Linked DNA regions of Homo sapiens: region 1 is linked to region 2. The links are contacts of gene promoters, found by promoter capture Hi-C in blood cells and fetal thymus (Javierre and others, 2016). All regions are on one chromosome and are shown on one strand. Each heading gives the region's core, a stretch centred on a gene start or on the middle of the fragment in contact. The rest is flanking DNA. Distances are from core to core; before and after follow the strand shown.

Evidence for each region. The method cuts DNA at HindIII sites, captures the fragments that hold promoters and counts their contacts. A CHiCAGO score of 5 or more calls a contact.
Region 1: the fragment with the promoter of STARD4-AS1 here is called in contact with the fragment with the promoter of PJA2 in region 2 in 1 of 17 cell types (activated CD4 T cells); the score reaches 5.5 in activated CD4 T cells.

Annotation. Positions count from the first base shown.
Region 1 is chr5:111,508,785-111,514,302 of GRCh38, reverse strand. It overlaps STARD4-AS1 (STARD4 antisense RNA 1), which reads right to left and starts at 2,077. Exons shown (of 7, transcript NR_040093.1): 1 at 1,795-2,077. STARD4 (StAR related lipid transfer domain containing 4) reads left to right here and starts at 1,768. Exons shown (of 6, transcript NM_139164.3): 1 at 1,768-1,918. RefSeq lists enhancers at 1,304-1,443, 1,924-2,133, 5,000-5,119 and a silencer at 1,524-1,893. The HindIII fragment of the contact is 3,364 bases long and covers 1-3,253 here.
Region 2 is chr5:109,407,276-109,412,293 of GRCh38, reverse strand. PJA2 (praja ring finger ubiquitin ligase 2) reads left to right here and starts at 2,320. Exons shown (of 10, transcript NM_014819.5): 1 at 2,320-2,452. RefSeq lists enhancers at 1,686-1,865, 2,976-3,095, 3,136-3,235 and a silencer at 2,376-2,455. The HindIII fragment of the contact is 12,845 bases long and covers 1-4,867 here.

The sequences.
Region 1 (5,518 bases), core at 828-3,327, 2.1 Mb before region 2:
TCCCAGAAACTGGCTGGAAGATAAGAAATCCCATGGGGGCATAAGTGTGATGTAATGACTCCCGCCGTCCAAAAAAAAAAAGCCAAGTTAATTTTGTTTTAAACATGTTTTACACCATCCTGCAAGAGAATATATAGACTGTTGAGCAAAGTATCCAGAACTGAATCCTAATAATGACAGATACAACTTTTTTACTTTTTTGAAATAGATACGTGGATTTATTCCTCTCCACCATTAAACCTGTGTAAACCCTCACAGTAGGAATTAGGCCTTTCATTTATGGTCCCAGTGGTCTTCACAGGTGCCTTGACAAAGAGCTACCAAGCACCATCTGAATTTTATGGAGACTAAGAGCCCAGTTTCAGAGTCCAGCAGACCTCAGCCAAATTCCAGTTTCTCCACTCAGTAATTAAGCAACCTGCCTTAAGATTTATGTCTGGGGCTCCTCGCCTGTAAAACACACCTACCTTAGGGGGCTGTTAAGAGGATTCAATGTAATTGAATTAAGTAGGTACAACTTAATTACAAAGCACTTTTCCCCAACCATTTCAAATTATTTATCTACGTATTCATCCATCCATCCAAAGCACCTCAATAATTGGCCAATAATTCCTAAGTGAAAGGAGCTTTACAACACACGAAGAACTCTTCTATTATGTCACACGAAATTATAAATATAAATATAAAACAAATTATTTTACATATAAACGATGGAGGTAAAAAATAAATCGGCCAATAATAACTAGCAAGTAGTATTTGGTAATTCTTTTGGTGAGGCCGACTTAAAAATTTACGAAATATTATTTATTTTCATTGCAAGTCTATCAGAAATCACTAATGGTGTAGCACTGCATTCTTCCCTGCTTTTGGTTCTCAAACTACGTATCTTAGTAAACGCAATTTGCAGACAAACCAAGCCTCGCTAATCAGTGCATCATGGCTACTCTGGTAAAGGAAGAAATTCACTGTTTGCCAAGCATCCCATCAGATGGGTGACTTCACAGCCACTGGAAGAAATCTTTCTCATGTTCGAGTAGATGGAAACTCCAAAACTGTGCAGTTGCTAAATCCACTTGTCACACCTCCTCCTTTTCTCTGCTTCTAAGGTTGCCCTCTAAACTCTTTATCTGAGGATGGAAACACACACACGCACCCACACACACCCACACCCACACACACACAAACGTATTTGGCTAAAGGTCAATTCACATAGTGGCAGGGACTTTCGTTTATATGCATTTTCCTTCCCAGCTCTCTCAGTTCTGAGTCAGGCTAAGCAGGAGGCAGAGAGCTCGTCCTCCTCTGCATGGGCGCTTTTTCTTATTTGACTTTTAGTCCTGGGAGGAGTAGCGTAGTTGCGAGATACTAGGATATCCACAAGCGGGATGAATTTGGACCTTATCCCTCACTGTGATCCTTCACTTCGCCTTCTGTTTCAATTTCTCCCAGTCGGTTTACTGCTTGACAAAATTCTTTCACAATTAAGTGATCACAGGACAACCCAACCCAACCAATCCAAACCTGCAGGCAACCCCAGACATCCAGGGAACCCTGGCGCGGCTCGGGCCAGCCCACACCCACGCGGAATCATTCCATTTATCGGCCACCAATCAGCCCTCCACACGCTCCCGCGCCAGCCAATCCGAACAAGCGCACGTTGTTCCGGCCACCTCCTCTCAGCCCCCCCTCCCCGGAGCCCCCGGGATCGGGCCAGGGGGCGGGGCTGGGGGCTCGGCCCGCCTTGCCCTGAGGCGCTGGGTGCCTTCCAGTTGGCTGCGACCAGCGGTGACTTACAAGTTGGCTGCTGTCGCCTGCGCATCGGCGGGCCGGGAGGCTGAGCAGTACTGTTGAGAGCGGTGTGAGGTGCTTGGTAGCGCGCCGTAGCTGCTTCCACGTCCTTGCTTCACCTCAGGTAAAGGTAAGGAGAGCCACGGAGCCGCGGCAGGATTGGGGTGGCCCGTGTGGAGGGCGACTGTGGCGCCCGGGGCGTCCTGCCAGGTGCGTCTTCTGGACCTGCTCCAGACCATGGATCTGGGGAGCTCGCGGTGGACGTTGGGGATGGCGGGCCCCGGCGTCCGGGCGGGAGAGGACCTCACAGATGAAAGAGAAACCTGAGCCCCTGGGAGGGGAAGCGGCGAGCTGGAAGGATCCCAGGGCTTGCAACTCGCCCCTGCGCGCCGCTCACCTATTTAAGTACTTGGAATCCATTAGACCTCAGTGTCCTCAGCTGTTAAATGGGAGAGGGGCGGTGGTAATCCCGCTTGATTTGGGACAGTCCTGTTCTTTGGAGGTCACCGCGCTTCCTGGTTCTTAGGAGGTGCACAGACAGCGCAGGGGCAGCCGCGTCCCACCAGGCTTCGCGGAGGTGATGCCAAAGACAAGAGACAAAGTTTTCCCAGGGCTTACTGCCTTCCAAGGTCCCTGCTAAATGTATTAACTCAAATAATTTCTCACCAAATCAGTGTCATTGTTTTCCCGAATTTACACTTGAGAAAGATTACCTTAGATTTTTAGGTTCAGCAGCCAGGACAAAACTTGACAAATATTTGGTGGGCCCAGGTTTTTTATATGAAGTCTTTTCCAGCCTGTGATCAGCTTCCACAGTTTTACAAGAGAGAGCTTTAGGCTCTGAAGTCAGACGCCCTGGGTTGGAATTCTGGCTCCATCACTTATGAACTGTGTGATCTTGGACAAGTGACTCAACCTTCCTGTTGCTATTTTCCCTTTCTGTAAAACAGGGAAAATGTATAGACATTAAGCTACTATTCTCACTTATGGAAGACCTCAAGATATCTAAAGTATGCCCATTTACACCAATCCTAGAGCTTCTGAATAACTAAAATTCCTTTACCATAATGAAACACATTTTCTCAAGGAGGACTATTACTGTTGTGAGGATTAAATAAAATAAATGCAATGTAAAGCAGCCAGAAGGACTGACCATGTAGTAAGTGATCAATAAATGTTATTGTTATTTTTTAAAATCAAGTACAGAGCATTAGGTTTTTTTTTTAATCAAGTATTAGAGCATTAGGGGTTTGAACAGTAAGTTGGCTCACTATTCATATTGTAGAAATATACTTCCATGTTGCATTTCTTTAAATAGTGAGCTCCTGCCAGAGCCAGTCTCAAAAAATGAGAAGCTGCTGTACTTGTCTGAGTTAGAAAACTTAACAGTTCAACATTGATTGGAAATCAAGCATATGCTGAAATTTTTATGTTAGTTAGAAAATATAATTTAATTTACAAAGCTTTGGTTTGTATGACATTGGGGAAAGTCCATGGCATGTTAAACTGAAGCTGTTGACGGAAGTGAAAACCATATTAATCAAGTAATGCAAGGTTAGACCGTTCTGATACCTGCATTTCTTTAACAAGTGAATTCTGACCTAGTCGTACTACAAAAGTCCAAACAGATTTTTATGGCATTCACTTTACATTACAGGTTAAATGTTTTATTATGTTCCATATTTAAAATAGAACCTATGCCATCTCACTGTGACAGATATTTGAGAATAATTGGAGTTGGATTGGTCAAGACTATGGTGCTGATAGATGGCCTCAAGAAAAGTAACTTGAGACAGCTGCCCTCCCTATGATGGCAGCCACTATCACCACTAGTGATAGCTTCAAAAGCATGGGCATAGAAAACATGAACAAAAAGATTAAAGGAAAAACATGGAGGTGGACATTACTCAGCATTTGGCCATGGGACTGACAAGAGTATAAAATCTTTTATATGAACCTATTATATTCTGATAAGGTTAAGTGGTGCCTGTTCTCTCTGACGTGTAAATGTTAGAGTTGGATAATTTCCTGATATAAGGTCAAGATAAGGGAATAAAAGACTGAATTAGTAAAAGGAAGTTCAGAATGGGTTCAGAATGGCATTTAAAACATTTACCTGACATTCTCCACAGTTGGAGATTGCAGGAGGGCAAATTAGGTGTTTTCCTCTCAATTAATGTCAGTACCCTGTTATATTAGGAGAGAGAGCCAAGACCTTGATAACCCATCTCCCCCAACCCTCTTGGTTCTAGAATATATTAATATTTTGAGAAATGCTCAATTATGCCTGTTTACACAGAGGTAGCAGTTTTGATGGCAATGATTATTTCATTATGGACTTAATCTTGATGAAAATAATCCATGCAAGACTTAACTGTTTGGTTAAATACATTGCTGGACATATTTAATCAGAGAGAGCTTTCTGATTTTGTACTTCTTTCTCTTCCTTTCCTACCTCCCACTGCACCACTCTTAAAAAGGCTATTAATAGAATTTTTTAATGTTTTAGTTTTTGTTGTTGTTATTTCTGTTAAAGCTTAAGGGTGGAATAAGTCAATTTGAGAGTAAAATCTGAATTCCATCTGTTTCTGTAGTTCTAGGACCTGGTATATAATAGATGCTTGATAAATATTTAATAGTAGTCCTTCTTGAGAAATGGTGTTTCATTATGGTAAAGGAAGTTTTAGTTATTCAGAAGCTCTAGGATTGGCGTAAATGGGCATACTTTAGATATCTTGAGGTCTTCCATAAGTGAGAATGGTAGCTTATTGTCTATACATTTTTCCATTTTTTATTCACTGTGTTCCTACTGAGTGCTAGACGTAAGGAGAATTAATATTGAACAAGCCAGATTTCCTACCCCCCAAAGATTTTACAGTTAAACGGGAGAAGATAACAAGTGAATAATTACAGTACAGAGTTGCTGTCAGAAAATATTGGAGGGGGAACTAACCCAGGTTCAGGGGAATCCAGGAAAGATAAGTGGAAATTAGGTAATGAAAATATGCCACATTATAAAAGGGCCTGTAAGCTATAGTAAGGAGCTTGAACTTTATACTGATCAGTATGAATTACTAAGTCAAGTACCTTAAAGTTGCAGATTCTCATCTCTTCTAGGTAGCTAGCTTTCTAGGTAACTTTCCGTGCACTGGATTTGCCCAGTGATAATGTTTGCTTATGATAATAATAACTTTCTGTTTCACCTTTGATTTCTATCAAAAAGTTTTGCATAAATACTCTTATCTGCCAACCACAGGAACCTAGCAGGTGACCTTTGGGTTTAAAGAATATGTTTAATCATAGTGATCCCTGTAATAGATAAATTAAATCTCTTTTACAAGCCTTCTGCAAGAACTTCTGCTTGTTTGTGGCATACTCTTGAATAAAGTTATTGAACTGGCTATCAAGTTGACAGCCTCTTGAATGGAAATTAGGTATATTCTTGACTGAGAGACTTTTTGAATGAGCTCATCAACTTTTCATCCGTGGATTGGATCTATACTTATTATATATTTTGCATCACTTACATAGATCCTAAAAGTTATATTGAATTTTCTTTGTATACTTTCCCATGTTTCTACATAATTTTAGTATTTATAAATTTTAATGGCTTATATGCTCTAATTAGTGGTATTTAAATATTGGCTACAACCTTAATTTATTTCTGTCACTTTAATTTTTAGATCAGTTAGTTCTGATCTCTGGCTAGACAACAGAATAATTAGTGAGA
Region 2 (5,018 bases), core at 1,071-3,570:
TACTTTAGGAACCACTGCAGTATATCATGTAGTACCTTCAATCCATTGCCTTAGATAGTGCTTCCCAACCCTGGAATCAACAATAATACATATAAGCGAATAATACATACTATTATCTCTATATAGTAATACAATACATAAGCTAATATGTATTTAGTACTTCATTGTAGGTATGATATGCTTTACATTGATTAGGTTATTTAATCTATACAACTCATGAATTGGTATTATTACTTTCCCATATTTATAATAAACTGGAAATCGAGGTCAGAGAACAAAGTAGATTGCCCAGAGGCACACGGCTACAAATGCAGGAGCCAGTATGTGAATATGTCTGCTTGATTCTAGAGTACAGGCTTTTTCAGCCTCCATACCAGTGTTTCTCATAGTAACATAGATCACTTATGATGCCTTGGTTAACTGTAGTTGGGACACGCATGCAGGATTAAAAACAATGACTCATATAGTGAGAAAGTGATTGCTATTCCGGCTCTATTTTTTCTATCCTTTGATGACATCATGATAAAAATACCATTTGAGTGCTGTATCTTTAATGTGTGTCTAATGCTTGGTAGCTTGCCCTTTTAACAAAGACAGTTGTCTTTAGACTTAGAGCCTTTAGTGGACAACAGTTTCTAGCCACAATTTAAAAACATTGTTTTGCATTCATTTTTCTTACAGTTACTTTCAACTTATAATAGGTGATGCTAGTTTTCCATTTATAGTACTTTTATAAAGTCTCCTTCTTAAAGAAATTAAAGAAAATATACATTTATTTAAAGAAAAAAGGACAGTGAGTAGTATACACAGATACAGTATGAAAAAGGTTGAAATTTGGGAATCCCTGCCTTCTAGAACAGGTTAATGTATCCAGTTGGGCCAATCTGGAACACCCTAAAGGGAAACTAGGGAAATGTAATTAAAATATGAATTTTGTTTTTTTTCAAAGAGGTACTTGGATGGTTAAAGTCAGAACTCCTATAGCAACACGTGTGAAGGCAGAGTAATATCAAGCAAGGAATGGTTTTTTGGTAAGAAACGTACTACAGGAGTGGGCTGGGATTCAGATTGGATTTCACAAAATGTCTGGCAAATTCTCATAAACCTAAATTTCTACAGTAAATTTTGGGTAATTTATTTCCATCAACAGCAAAAAAAAATTAGTCTCAGTTCACTGGCAAGAGAGTTCGCTGTTGTTAAGGGGACAGCACAAGAAGTGGGGCTCTTAATTCGCGGGGGAGGGGTGGCGATGAATATATCCTGGGCATCAGGCGACGGGTCGGGGGTGGGGAATAAGAGAAGACAGAGGGACTGTAATCAGATAAGCGGACACGTTTCAAGATGAATAAAGGGAATATGTGCGGAACGAAGAAACAGTTTTGTATCACTGACATAATTAACTAAACTGTTACCCAGGTTTAAATTAAGCAAGGTGTCCGGGGACTGCAGCTGTTGTATTTATTTTGGTTGCATGTGATGGGAGCTGTTACTTCCCGGCTTGACAAACAGCCTCAAGATGCAAGCTGGGAGGCTGTGGTCAGCCCAAGGCTATACAGAGGAAAGGCAGGCCTCCTCTGAACCCCGCCCCAGCAGAATAAGAAGCGAGGGGCAAGGGTCAGCGCGGAGAGGGAGGGTGGAAAGCGCCATATAGTGCCCAGGGTCAGGGTGGGTAAACAAGCCTTTCTTCGTGTCATTTTTTTTTTTTGTCTCACCGATATCTGCATTGTAACTGAACTTTATGCCAGGAGACCTTAACCTTGTTAATCAGGTTTCCAGTCGAATCAGGATCGATTTTAATGCCTCCATTTTGGTTGTTGCTGTTGGAATTTCCGAAAAAGCCTAACTGCGCCAGTCTTTCTGTTAGTTCTCCACACCCCCTTCCCTTTCCGAGACCCCGCCCTTTTCTCTCAGCCCAAACCACAAAAGGCCGCGCAGTTTTAGCTCCTACACGGTGCTCCGCCCCCTCCCCAAACGTCGCAGTACTGCAGGGAAAGGAGGTGGGCTCGGCTGGGGCGGGGGACTGAGTCGGCTTCGTCTTTCCGCTCTTCAGCCAATTGGTGAACTCCCCCTGAGGGAGATGGGGGAGCAGGCTGTAGAGAAGGTCCAAGTATTTTTCCCTTTTTCTGCCACGTCCCAACCATTGACGTGAGCCCACTCCTCAGGTTCTGATTGGGCGTATGCATTGTCCCCCAGCAGAGACCCTGTAAGCTGACTGGTCATCTCTGCTATGGGGGAGGGGCTTGCGTACTCTCCTCCTTCGCCTCCACCGCGGCGCAAGGGGCGGGACTCACCGCCACCGCCTCTGCTTCCGCCGCCGCCACCGCCGCCGCCGCCGCCACAGCCGCCAGCCGCTTCGCGTTCGGCGGGGGAGGAGTTGGAGGCGGAGAAGAAGGCGGTGGTGGCGGGTGGAGGTTCGAGCGCTGTTCTCGCTCCGGAGCCGCTGCACATTTCGGTGAGGGTTTTTTTTTTTTTTTTTCAGTCTGGCTTGTTCCGCTGTCGGGAGTGTGGGGGTCGGGGCGAGGAAATTGCTGCGTTCAGCTCCTCAGTTTCTCTGTCTCTAGCTTCGGAAGGAGCGGGGCTTGTCCCTGGCCTGCTGCGCCGGCCATGGTGGGTGGGGTTGATGGCTGTGGGAGGCCTTCTTCGCCTCCTGGGCCCTGTCCAGCCCGGACCCGGGCCGCGCTCCTATCCGGGACGGTCGCGCCCGCCGCCCCCCGACAGATGACATTGGTTGGTATCGGGGTCTTCGCTGCCGCTCTTTACTGCTGCCTCTTCTGCTGTCCTTGGTGACTTGGCCAAGGAGCCCGCTGGCTTTCCCCTACACTCGCCACTGTACAAGAGTTTGCCCCCCAACCAACACCTCACACCCACCTTCTGCGGTTTCCCGTCACCCCGCGTAGAGCGGAACCATCTTACGCCACAGGCCTGCAGCACCCCTCCCCCGAGGAGCCTTCTGTTGCCGTCGTTTTGCTGGGCGTCTGCATTTTCCCCGATTGTCAGTGAGGCTCGGCACGCAGACACCCCGCTCGAGCCGCAGCAGTCGCTCTACTCCCGGGATCAGCACCTTTCCGCCAGGGCTGCTCTCAGTTAGCGATGTCAGGCCAGAGCTCCTCTTGCAGATGCACCTTTAATTTGGCCTCCCTCAGATGACTGGTAATCATTTTGCGCACATTCAAAATGGTGAGGTTAAAGACGCTCAGACCAAGTTGAAGCAAAGGGGAGGTGGTAAATAGTCGTTTTGCAGGGAGGAGAGTAATCTGAGAGTTCCTTCTCCGGACATTAAAAAAAAAAAAATTTACATCCGCATAGGCGCTTCTTTTGAGTCTGCTGGTTCTGTGAAGTTTAAAATTTTCATTGCAGGCTTAATGTATTCTGTTTTATCATGAAATATTTGGTCACATTTCTTTAAAATGGCAGTCACCTTTGCTGAAGGCTACGGATCATTTGAAGTGTATGTGAATAAACCTGAGGATAACAGTAATAAACGTTTAAACTGTATTTTTCAGTGTTGTAATTGTCTTTTGGGGTTCATGTCATTTTTATATGAGATGACCACTTAATTTTAAAAATTCATTGCAGACATGCAAGTTTGATGTACACTTCAACAATATAAATAACGGACTGTTAGGTAAAATTTAAATATTTCTTTTCATCCCCCAGTCCCACTCCAGTGTAAAGTTGACAGTTTAGTGTTCATTTTTCAAAATCTTGCAAATGCACTTCTAGACACATACAAGTACACGTAAAGTTTTTTTTTTTGAGGGAGGCTATACCATATACCAAACATGTTTGCATACCGCTTGCTTATTGACTTAATTACATATGTTGGACATTTTTACTTTTTACATATAGGTCTCCCTAATACTTTTTAAAAGGCTAACTGGTATCTCGTGAGTTTGAATGGGCTATAATTTATTCTATTCCCTTTTTGAAAGACATTTAATTGCAGTTTCTTTTTGCTATTACAAATGATGATTTATAATGAAAATAACTTTCTAATTTATTGATCGATGTTTAATTACAAATTTTAATTCATCCTTGATTTTAAAAAATTAAACAGTATGGAAGAATGTAAGGTAAAAATTACCGCTTCCACTTCTAGTCCTGCTTGCATCTTGATTGTCAGCCACTGTTAACAATTCAGTAAACTTCCTCTATGTGTGATTATTTCTGGAGCATGGGTTCCTAGAAGTGAAGTTGCTCAGTTAAAAGATTATGCATATTTTAAATTTTGGTAACCCTTTCTCCCTCTTTATTACTCTTGTTGAAAATATTCTTGAATGTTTCTTATGCATTTCTTCTTCTAGGTAAACTTTAGACTGAACTAAAAATCCTTAGCTATTTTGAATAAGGTTATATTGAAATTTTAGATTAATTTGGAGACAACTGATCTTTATAGTATTGAGTCTCTCTCCTCAGAAATGTGGCCTCTCCATTTTATTCACATCTTGTTTTATACTGTTAGGGAAATTTTTATAGTTTTTCTTTTTTTTCTTCATACGTATAACATTCCTTCCTGGTATTCCTATTTTATGGTTTGATTCGTGTGGTGGATGGAAACTTTCAGTAACATTTCTCTCTCTCTGTTTTCTCTGGTTATAGCAAAACTTTTGAGTTTTCTATCATGTATCAGATTATTTTATTGAGTTGATTATCAGGAGATATTCACAGTTTTGTGGTTTCCTTTTCAGTTTTTATAACTTATGTGTTTTTCTCATTGCTTTTGCAATTATACATCTTATAAAATGTTGAGCACTGGTAGATTAAAAACTAATAGCACTGATAGCTAACAACAAACATGGCATTGTTTCTGACTTTAAGGGGGAATGCTTCTAATGTTTTAGCATTAATTATGATGTTTGGTGAAGCTTTCTGGTAAAGCCGCTGATATTAAAATATTTCCTTCTAGTCTTGGCTTTCCAAGATGCTTATGTTGTTGTTTTTGACATTTTTAAAAACCATAAATGAGTTTTCTTATATATATTTTTTTGACATCTTTTGAGGTGGGTATATGTGGGCAT